Regions from separate parts of the Homo sapiens genome. Here regions 1 and 3 are each linked to region 2. Evidence: promoter capture Hi-C in human tissues and cell types (Jung and others, 2019). All regions are on one chromosome and are shown on one strand. The core of a region is centred on a gene start or on the middle of the fragment in contact, and the rest is flanking DNA. Distances in the headings are between cores, read along the strand shown. Region 1 overlaps ARID1A (AT-rich interaction domain 1A). Region 2 holds the start of GPATCH3 (G-patch domain containing 3). Region 3 overlaps LOC101928391 (a long non-coding RNA gene).

Evidence for each region. Contacts are between HindIII fragments. The study calls those that stand out against the background at their distance.
Region 1: a contact is called between a fragment that was not itself captured here and the fragment with the promoter of GPATCH3 in region 2, in 1 of the 25 tissues and cell types used here (lymphoblastoid cells).
Region 3: a fragment that was not itself captured here is called in contact with the fragment with the promoter of GPATCH3 in region 2 in 1 of the 25 tissues and cell types used here (neural progenitor cells).

The regions. Positions count from the first base shown.
Region 1 is chr1:26,703,989-26,707,410 of GRCh38, forward strand. The region is part of intron 1 of ARID1A (AT-rich interaction domain 1A); the gene reads left to right. Among named protein-coding and RNA genes, the nearest start is that of ARID1A, 9.7 kb to the left of the region's middle. RefSeq lists a silencer at 10-304. The HindIII fragment of the contact is 8,241 bases long and covers 1-3,422 here.
Region 2 is chr1:26,898,482-26,901,756 of GRCh38, forward strand. GPATCH3 (G-patch domain containing 3) reads right to left here and starts at 1,986. Exons shown (of 7, transcript NM_022078.3): 1 at 1,511-1,986. The coding sequence starts at 1,961. It also overlaps a transcript of NUDC not described here. RefSeq lists an enhancer at 1,931-2,050. The HindIII fragment of the contact is 3,671 bases long and covers 594-3,275 here.
Region 3 is chr1:27,033,976-27,037,507 of GRCh38, forward strand. All of the region lies in intron 2 of LOC101928391 (a long non-coding RNA gene), which reads left to right. Among named protein-coding and RNA genes, the nearest start is that of TENT5B, 23 kb to the left of the region's middle. RefSeq lists an enhancer at 931-1,432. The HindIII fragment of the contact is 4,027 bases long and covers 1-3,461 here.

The DNA of each region.
Region 1 (3,422 bases), core at 713-3,212, 190 kb before region 2:
CTTTTCAGAGGCTTTTTTTGTGAAGCTAAATGTTCAAGAAACTTAGAATACTAATTTGCCTTTTCATAATGCTATTCTTAAGTTCCATGGGCTTGATAGAATCCACATTGCACATCCATCTCCAGACCAGTAGCTGTCTCAGTGTTCCAATGACTTTGAGAATTTGGACTCTAACCATAAAACTCCCTGAAAGAGTGGTTCCAGGGTCTTAGTGGTTCTTGTGGTCAGGTAGAGCCTTTGGTACAGACTGTTAAGTTCTTGGCTAGTTCAGGGGCACTTTTCTAGTAAATTTGGATTTGGAAGGTCATGTCACCTTCAGAGTTGTGTGCCCTGGACAGCTCTGTAGTAATGGTGGTTCAACTTTGTTGGTGAGTCTGTCTTGGCAGAGTTAGTTGACCTTTCTTAAAACAAGAGCCACGAAGTAAGTATCTGTTGGGACTCTTAGGCTGCTATTTCTGAGGAGCTGGGAGCTGTGTTCAAGTCAAGTTGCTTGTGTTAGACCTTATATTGAGGTTGATGGGTTAGGTAAGCCTGCACATATGCAGTCTGCCCATTTATTCATAGAAATGGCCTTTAATACTGTTTTTGGCCGGGCGCGGTAGCTCACACCTATAATCCCAGCACTTTGGGAGGCCAAGGTGGGAGGATTGCCCAAGCCCAGGACCAGCCTTGGGACCAGGCTATTAACATAGGGAGACCCCATCTTTACAAGACACAAAAATTGCTGGATGTGGTGGTACGTGCCTGTAGTCGCAGTTTACTTAGAAAGCTGAGGCAGGAGGATTGCTTGAGCCCAGGAGGTTGAGGCTGTTGTAAGCCATGATTACGCCAGTGCACTCCAGCCTGGGCAATGGAGCCAAGACCTTGTCTCAAAAAAAAAAAAAAAATTTGTTTTTTATTAGGTTACTATGGCCAAGCAGCTAACAAATGCTGCTCACCAATGCTTAATCCTTGTGGAGCCTCTGGAATATAGTGATTTTGGTTTCTTTACCTGCTGGTCGATCTGTGGTTGGGCCTTGGCACTTCACCGGTCAAGGATCATCAGTGGATGCTTAACAGCTGAAGATGCATGGCATGTCCAGTGCCAGGCCACTGTAATGCTTCTACCTGGAGAAGGATTGGTTACACTGCTCCAGTACAGAAGTACTGCAGACCTTTTTTTTTTTTTGAGATGGAGTCTTACTTTGTCACCCAGACTGGAGTACAGTGGTGCAATCTGGCTCATTGCAACCTCTGCCTCCCAGGTTCAAGCGATTCTCATGCCTCAGCCTCCTGAGTAGCTGGGATTATAGGCTTCCACCACCATGCCCGGCTAATTTTTGTATTTTTAGTAGAGGTGGGGTTTCATCATGTTGGCCAGGCTGGTCTTGAACTCCCAACCTCGGGTGTGATCCACCCACCTTGGCCTTCCAAAGTGCTGGAATTACAGGTGTGAGCCACCACGCCCAGCCTTTTTTTTTTTTCCCCCCCCCTCAAGTAATGGTCCATGACCTGCTGAAAGTACTGGAGTCTTGGATAAACATTCTGGTTTAGAAATACCTTTTCCACTTTTTTTGCCTTGCCATTTTGGCATTTTGCAAAAGTGGGTTTTCAGTTACTCAGAATTGGGCACCATAGTTAACCTCCTATGGATTACAGGTGTTTAGGGGCTTGAACTCTGATCATTCCCAGGTTTTAGAGGAATCCAAGTTCGGGTGAATATTGACTTAGTAGCCTTGAGTATTCTTCCTGAAATTACCCCTCCTCTCCATTTAAATGGATGAAATTAGTTTTTTACTGAATGTGAAGGGACATCTGAATGAACTTCTGTTTGTTTTTGTTAGTCACTTGTGCATAGCTGGAATATTATCTTGGGACAGGTTGAGTCTATTTCCCAGTGGCTTCTGCATTTTCTAAGGGTGGACTGGAATGGGAAGAAGTCTAATGCCAAGAATGCATTCCAACATGCTGCAGAGTAGGAAATTTGATCCCTAAAATGTTGACTTAGTGTTGGTCATGGTACATATTAGAAATCACCCAGTAATCCAGGACAGATTTTTGTCACCCTCCAGGAAGTTATGTTGATATAAATACTAAGGGGCTTTGGGTACTGAGCTAAGTGCTCTGCAGGCCCAAAGCGCTGCTTGAATTGCTACCCATATGAAGAGGAAATGTGCCATGTGCCTTTTTTTCTCTCTTTTGCATTTGGGCTTCCTTATGGCTTTGTTGCTTTTATGTTCCCAAGTCTGCAAAGTTAGATATTAGACTTCCTCCTCCCTTGGCACTGGCAGATTCATGATTTTCCATGGCTCATCACTAGCAGCCAAGATTTTTGTATGCTTTTCTCTCTTAAACTTGTTCGTTTTCAGCTTGCTTGTTTATAGGCATCTCTGTTAAAAGGAACCCTTCTTTTCCCCTTAAGATCTAGCACCAGGGGTGCTTGGGGGTTGTTGTGATATCAGTCAATTAAAAGCCCATTTGGTGTGTGCTTGGTGTTTTTATTTTGCTCATGTTTTCTTTGAGGTCACAACGTGCTTGCCGGGCATGAGTGCCTTTGGGCCCAGCTGTTTACTCTCAACTGCCGTGTACTTTGACTTTAAGAAAAGTGCAAATTCAGCCACGTGGTAGAGGGATTAAAGGCCACATAGTGTTGGATGCTTCCTTTTGGAAGAAACAGATATATCTTTGGGCTCTTCTTGCCCAGTGATTTCTCCTGTCTGGGGTAGACATTGTTGCTTTCTGTTGTCCTTAGAGAACAGGGCAGAAATGCTGGGAATTGGTTTATTACTGTGTCTCTTTGGCAAATATGTATGTCTTTTTCTCTTGCCCTTTGGACAACATTCTGTTCTGGTCCTAAGGTGTTGGAGTTCACAGGTTGATCTAGCGTTATGTGAAACTCTTGGTAATTTAGGTTTGGATAACCGGCTTTTAGTCTCCAGATTTCTAACATTGTGCTTGTTTAGGAATTTAGGCTTCTAAAGAGAACCATATTACAAAGCTTTTGGGGAACAATTCTGTAGGTAGTTTATCTGTTCTTGGGTCACAGATCCTCACCAGGATCCTGACTTTTTTTTTTTTTTAGACGGAGTCTTGCTCTGTCACCCAGGCTGGAGTGCAGTGCAGTGGGGCAATTTCAGCTCACTGCAGTCTCCGCCTCCTGGGTTCAAGGGGTTCTCCTGCCTCAGTCTCCTGAGTAGCTGGGACTACAGGCATGCGCCACCGCGGCTGGCTAATTTTTTTTTTTTTTTTTTTTTTTTTTGAGATGGAGTCTTGTTCTATCGCCCAGGCTGGAGTCCAGTGGTGTGATCTCGGCTCACTGCAACCTCCGTCTCCCAGGTTCAAGTGATTCTCCTGCCACAGCCTCCCGAGTAGCTGGGACTACAGGCGCCTTCCACCACGCCCTGCTAATTTTTGTATTTTTAGTAGAGATGGGGTTTCATCAT
Region 2 (3,275 bases), core at 736-3,235:
TGATTTTTGTATTTCTAGTACAGACAGGGTTACGCCATGTTGTCCAGGCTGGTCCTGGCCTCAAGTGATATCTACCCACCTGATGACCTTTTGATTCTCGGCTGTCACCAACTCCCACCTCCTGCATGTCTTCATACGATGTGTTCCAGCCACACCAAACAATTTTTCTCCTAATTTCTTTTTTTTCTTCTTTTTTTTTTTTTGAGATGGGGTCTCGTTCTGTCACCCAGGCTGGAGTACAGTGGCGCGATCTTGACTCATTGCAACCTCCACCTCCTGGGCTCAAGTGATCCCCCCACCTCAACCTCACAAGTAGCTGGGACTACAGGCATGCGCCACCACAACCGGCTAATTTGTATTTTTGGTAGAGACAGGGTTTCACCATGTTGCCCAGGCTGGTATGGAACTCCTGAGCTCAAGAGATCCACCCACCTGTGCCTCCCAAAGTGCTGGGATTACAGGCACGAGCCATTGCAACCCAGCCCACAATGAACAATTTAACATGCCCTGAAAGTTTTTCACGGGCTTTCAAAGCTGTGTCTTTGCAAACGCCATTTACCCTGAAACCCAGAAACACCATTCTCTCCTATTAACTCCTATTTATTTTTCAAGACCCAGATGGAAAGCCACATTTCATGATCCATCTAGGAAGTTAGTTTCTCCCTTCTCTGTCATCTCACAGCACTTGGTGATAAACAGTATAGGCTCTGGAACAGATGCCTAGGTTTGTTGTAGCTCTGACACTAACTAACTCTGTAACCTCAGGCAAGTCACATAACTTCGGCTTCCCTCAGTTTCTTCACCTATGAAATGGGAGAAACAACAGCTCCTATCTCATAGGACTGTTGAGAGGGGTAAGAAAACAAAAGGCTTAGAACAGCGCCTACTAAATACAGAGTGCTCAGTGAATGCTAACAATTAGAATGACATCTCTGTGGCAATAACCTTTTTCCAAATGTCTTCCTTTGTGGATTCTGAGCACACACTATGTCCAACTGTTCTCTGCATACCCAGCTAGTCACACTAGGTCTAGCAATGTAAGCATTTGTTGAATGTGTGAACTGGAGGGCTCTGCACTGTCCTGTTTCCCCATCAAACTGATTTCCCATGAAAGTGGGAGCTGTCCAGAGAAAAGATTGTCTCTTCATTTGTATCTTACTGAAAGGACTGGGTAGGAAGCACAGAGAGAGCAGGAGAGAAAGACAGTAAAAGGGTTAGAGACTGGATTTCCTTTTTTCTTTCTGTGTTAGTGCAAAATCAACCCCTTGGATAGAGAAAGGGTCTCAAAAGGGACCTAACAAAATGAAGGCTCTTCCGAATAAGCCTCTCCGGTTTATTTTTCTCCATGTATTGGACTAACTCCCTGCAAGTTGAGCCTGAAGCTCTGTCTAGAATATGAACTAAACTCATAGAGTCCTAACCAGAGGCCTGACTTATCCTCACCACTCCTCTGAAAAGGTGCCTCTGTTCCAGGCCCGTAGGCCCAGTCTATTAACTTTCTCACTCTTACCTGATGCCTCCGTAGGTAGCCGAAGTCTGCGGATGAGACAGCGACCCGGTAGCCAAGTCCCGTGAGAATCCAGCCACCGGCGGCCCGAGTACATGCGAATAAGCCTCTGAGCTTGAGCCAACCCCCTTACCGAGATGACGCAGCAGCAGGTGCGGGTCTGGATTGGAGTAGAGTCTCGAGTGGAGAGAGGCCGGACATCGGTGGCCGAAGTCTGAGAGAGAAGCTGGCCCTCAGCGGCTGGGTCGGTAGGAATTAGGGCAGAGTTAGGAGCGGCCTGCGGAGGGGCCCGCTCAGGCCGATGCCGGTAGTGGAAACAGAGGAAGCCACCGCCGCGCTCTTCTCGGAACTGGCTAAAATAGCTCCGTAAATGGGCCGAGCGCAACACGGAGGGGATACCGCTCACTACCAGGTAAACTGTCGCCTCCTCCTCCGCCTCGCCGGGCACCGCCATCTTGGATTGTCACATGATCAGCTAGAACCAAGTCTCGCGAGAACACCGCGAGCAACGTTCCAGCCCCTGCGTTGCGAGATTGTGAAAATTCTAACTAGTCCTTTGGGATTGGGGTTGTGGAACCTGGAGCTGGAAGATCCGAAGTCTTCTGTGTTCCTTTCCCACAGAGGGAAGCCGGCGATGATGGAAAAACTCACCTGGAAAATGGGGTCATAGAGTTCTTTCATAAAGCTCTCATGAGGACCAAATAAGAAGCCTGCGGGAGGGGTCATTTTTGAGGTATTTAGTTGTGGATATTGCACACCTAATCTCAACCTTCCTCAGTTCTGAACCTTTAGTCGTTCTTCCATTTATTTTTCCAAAATGTGTTGATGAACTCCCACAAATCGGTAAGAAAAAGATAACCCGGTAGAAAAATGGGCCGAAGATACTTCGCAAAAGAGGAAACACGCAGGTCCAATTTACAATGAAAGTGCTATGAGTTACTAGAGGCTTACGTTAAAGAAAAGATGCACAACTCAATAATAAAAGAAATGCAGCGAGACCCACTTTGCATCCACTATGTTGGCAAACTTTAAAACCTTAGAGTCGATGACAACATGGTGGAACTGAAGCTCTCATACACTGTTGGTGGAAATGTAAGTTGATACAACCACTTTGGGAAACAATTGGCGTTATCTAGTAAAAGCAAAGCTACACATCATTTGACTCAGCACTTGTAGGTAATATTTTATTTATTTTTGAGTTGGGGTCTCGCTCTGTCGCCCAGGCTGGAGTGCTGGGACCACAGATGCAACCCACTATGCCTGGCTAATTTTTTAAACTATTTGTAGAGATGGGGTCTCACTGCATTGCCCAGGCTGGTATTGAACTCCAGGGCTCAAGTGATCCACTGGCCTCAGCCTCCCAAAGTGTTAGGATTACAGGTGTGAGCCACGGTCCCCGCCTTTTTGTCTTTTTTTTTTTTTTTTTTTTTTTTTGAGATGGAGCCTCGCTCTGTCATCCAGGCTGGAGTGCAATGGTGCGATCTCGGCTCACTGCAACCTCCGCCTCCCGGGTTCAAGCAATTCTCCTGTCTCAGCCTCCCGAGTAGCTGGGACTACAGGTGCGTGCCACCACGCCCGGCTAATTTTTGTATTTTTAGTAGAGACGGGGTTTCACCATATTGGTCAGGCTGGTCTCGAACTCCTGACCTCAGGTGATCCACCCGCCTTGGCCTCCCAAAGTGCTGAGATTACAGATGTAAGCCACCGCACCCGGCCCTCTTTGTACGTTTTTTAATTGGGTTATTTGATTACTATTGATTCATTGATT
Region 3 (3,532 bases), core at 198-2,697, 130 kb after region 2:
GCCACCAGGACTCTGTGAACATGACTGGCCATCTCCTTCCACTGTTCCTACTTAAGGTCCTGGTGCTTACACAAGAAAGTGGTACCACAACCAGCTCTTTCTAGTGGCAGCTGGACTTGTGGGGGCGGGGAGGGCACAGCTTCTCTAACTGTCCTCAGGGCTCTGTCCAGAGGTATGGATTCTGGTAAACTGGCTAGCTGGAAAGAATAACCAAAAGCCCTCCACCATGGTCAATTTCAGGCTACCCACATGACGCCACTACACGTGAAGTTGTGAAGAGATGTGCAGAATTGGCTCCAGCACCCCCCGTACCTGTTCCAGGACAGTCCCGTTGCCTTCCACGGGGCCCAGAAAGGGGCTGGGGTCCTGCTGGCTTGCCAAGTTAGGGTACCCTTGAGGACTTCCTGTCCTGCCCTTGTGCCTGTTGGTGTGACTGTGATTATGATTGTGGCTATAGTTGACATTGTGATTGTGATGGTTGAAGCTTCAGTTACTGGTGTGTTTTCAGTGACGGGGAGAAGAGGCCAGTGAAGTAAATGCCTCTGTCACTCAAGGGACACGGCCAGGTGCCCAGGGGTATGAGGGCCAATTAGGGCCCAGGGTCCTCAGGGCTGTGTTGTGGCTCTATGCAGGAAACTGGAAACCTGATGTGACCTAATGAACACATCTCCTGCCACTCTCCCCTTCCTCCACTGTGCAGTGATGACCTGGCCTCATGCTGCATTGAGGAGACAGGAGCCCAGCTGTGGGACGCGCTCACCTTTCCATGGTGTAATCTGTATTCCTACCTGCACCGTGCCCTTCTTCTTCTCCTTCCTGACTCACATCTGAGGTTGGGTCCCTCCTCTTATCAAAGGACAGTCTTTTTTTTTTTTTTTTTTTTTTTGAGACGGAGTCTTGCTCTCTAGCTCAGACCGGAGTGCAGTGACGCGATCTCAGCTCACTGCAACTTCTGCCTCCCAAGTTCGAGCAATTCTCCTGCCTCAGCCTTCTGAGTAGCTGGGATTACAGGTGTGCACCACCACGCCCAGCTAATCTTTTTGTATTTTTAGTAAAGATGGGGTTTCACCATGTTGGCCAGGCTAGTCTCGAACTCCTGACCTCAAGTGATCCTCCCGCCTCTGCCTCCCAAAGTGCTGGGATTACAGGCGTGAGCTACCACGCCAGGCCTAAAGGACAGTCCTTAGTGACTTCCCATTGGCTGGAATAAAATGCTGATTCTTTACGGGATGACTTTAGCCTCATCTCCCCCTTCCACCCCCGGCTCCTTGTGTTTCAGCTTCGATTGGCCCCTTTTCTGTTCTACAAGCACAACAAGCTTGTTCCTACCTCAGGGACTTGGAGCCCACAGTTGCCTCCCAGTCTCTGCGTGTCTGGTTACTCATCGTCCCAGTCTTGGCCCAAAGAGCCCTTCCCTGACCTTTCCCTCTAAAGGGGGCTCCCCAGTTACTCTCCATGTTTTCACCTTTGTTGTGGTCAGCCCAGCACTGATGGGTCACCTTGTTTACTGCAGTGTGACTTGTTTCAGGGTCTTCCCCACTAGAGTGTAAGCTCCATGAGGGCAGCGTGCTCATTGTCTGTGGTACCTGGAATCTGGCTGGTACCAGATAAATGCACATGGAATATATAGTACATGTCTGTGTTTATTTCCCCTTTGTTGTCCCTGGGCCATTGCTAACATCTTGTTTGCAGGTCCAAGCCTGGTTTCTTCTCTCCACCGGGCTCTAAAGGGAATGGGCCAAGCTTCCCCCCAACATTTGGGCCAGAGTATGAAAGAGGGGCTAGTGCTCTGCAGGTGCCCCTGTGGTGGGGGGCAGCAGAGGTTGCTGGGTGAGCTCAAGGGGCTTTGAGCCTCCTGGGGTTGAGAGGTCCGGGCGCCTCCAACTTTGATTTGCTTTTGGTACAGAGGGCAGCATTTCCTCCAGCTTCTATGTGTATCCCGGCCCCCGGGCTTCCTCTCTGAGCAGGACTTTCATTGTTTTCTGTCTGCCTTGTGCCCATTTCCTCCTTCCTCCCTCACTCCTGAGGACGAACTCCTCCTCTTATCAAAGGACAGCCCTTCCTGTCTTCCCATTACATTCAAAGCCCCTTTCTCTTTGGGGAGGAGCCCCCACTACATGAGTCTTGATGGACATCTGGGCCCTATTGCCCACTATAGAAGCTGGAGGGGACCACAGACCCCTCTTCCTACTCCCTGGCAGAGAGGACATGGGCACATAACCTGGGGCGGCCAAGGGGCGTAGCCCAGGGCTTGGAGTGAGTGATGCCAAGACAGGAGGGTAAGAATTCACTTAGAAAGGAGGCTTTTGCCAGCCCAGCCAATATGGTGAAACCCTGTCTCTACTGAAAATACAAAAAAAAAAAAAAAAAATTAGCCGGGCGTGGTGGCGCATGCCTGTAATCCCAGCTACTTGGGAGGCTGAGGCAGGAGAATTGCTTGAACCCGGGAGGCTGAGGTTGCAGTGAGCTGAGATCGCGCCACTGCACTCCAGCCTGGGTGACAGAGGGAGACTCTGTCTCAAAAAAAAAAAAAAAAGGAAAGAAAAGTGGTCTTTGGTAGCAGTTGCCAATGTGGTGTCTGATGGTGACAGTGATATCCAGATGTCTTGCAGCAGGCTTGGCCTGTCCAATGCTGTCACTTCCTTCGTTCCTGCTTTTATCTGAGCTTGGGAGGTAGTTTGAGAAGTCGCTGGTGCAGTTATGGAGGGGTGGGGAAAGCAAGATCCCTTTGGAGAGGAGCTAACAGGGTTTCCTGCCCCAGAGCTCTGCCACCACTCAGATGCCCAGAACCTGCCCCCCAAATTCCACTCTCTGAGAGTTCAGGGTTGAGCCCCCTCCCTCCTCCACCATATCTCCTGAGGCCCCTCCCACCAGGTATCCCAGCTGAAGAGGTTCTTCCCTGGGAACTGCTGCCTCAGCCCAGATTCAAGTCAGACAACAGGAAGGACTTCCTGACTGGGGGGGATGGGAGGCCCTGGACAAGGTCAGTGGGGGCATTTCTATCCCAAGACAAGGGACTGACTTCTGGAGGCCCTTTTCCAAATGACAGACAAAAAGAGCAGAGTCTTCTTCAGCCTGGCCAGGGCGGGCAGGGAAGGTTTTTAGAACAGGGTGAAGCACTTAGGGCCAAAGAGCACCAAGATTAAGAGCTCAGACTCCCTTGTTACATCCCAGCTCTGTCACTAACTAGTTGTGTCATCTTGGGTAAGCTACTTAACTCTGCTTCAGTTTTTTTAATCTGTAAAATGGGAGCAATAGTAGTACCTATCTCAGGAGGTTTAAATCAGTGAGTTGAAATTTGTAAAGTGTCAGAGCAATGCCTGGCACAAAGTGACTATTATATAAATTATTTATTTATTTATTTATTTATTTATTTTTTTGAGATGGAGTCTCTCTCTGTCTCCCAGGCTGGAGTGCAATGGTGTGATCTTGGCTCACTACAACCTCTGCGTCCCAGGTTCAAGCAATTCTCCTGCCTCAGCCTCCCGAGTAGCTGGGATTACAGGCGTGCATCACCATGCCTGGCTAATTT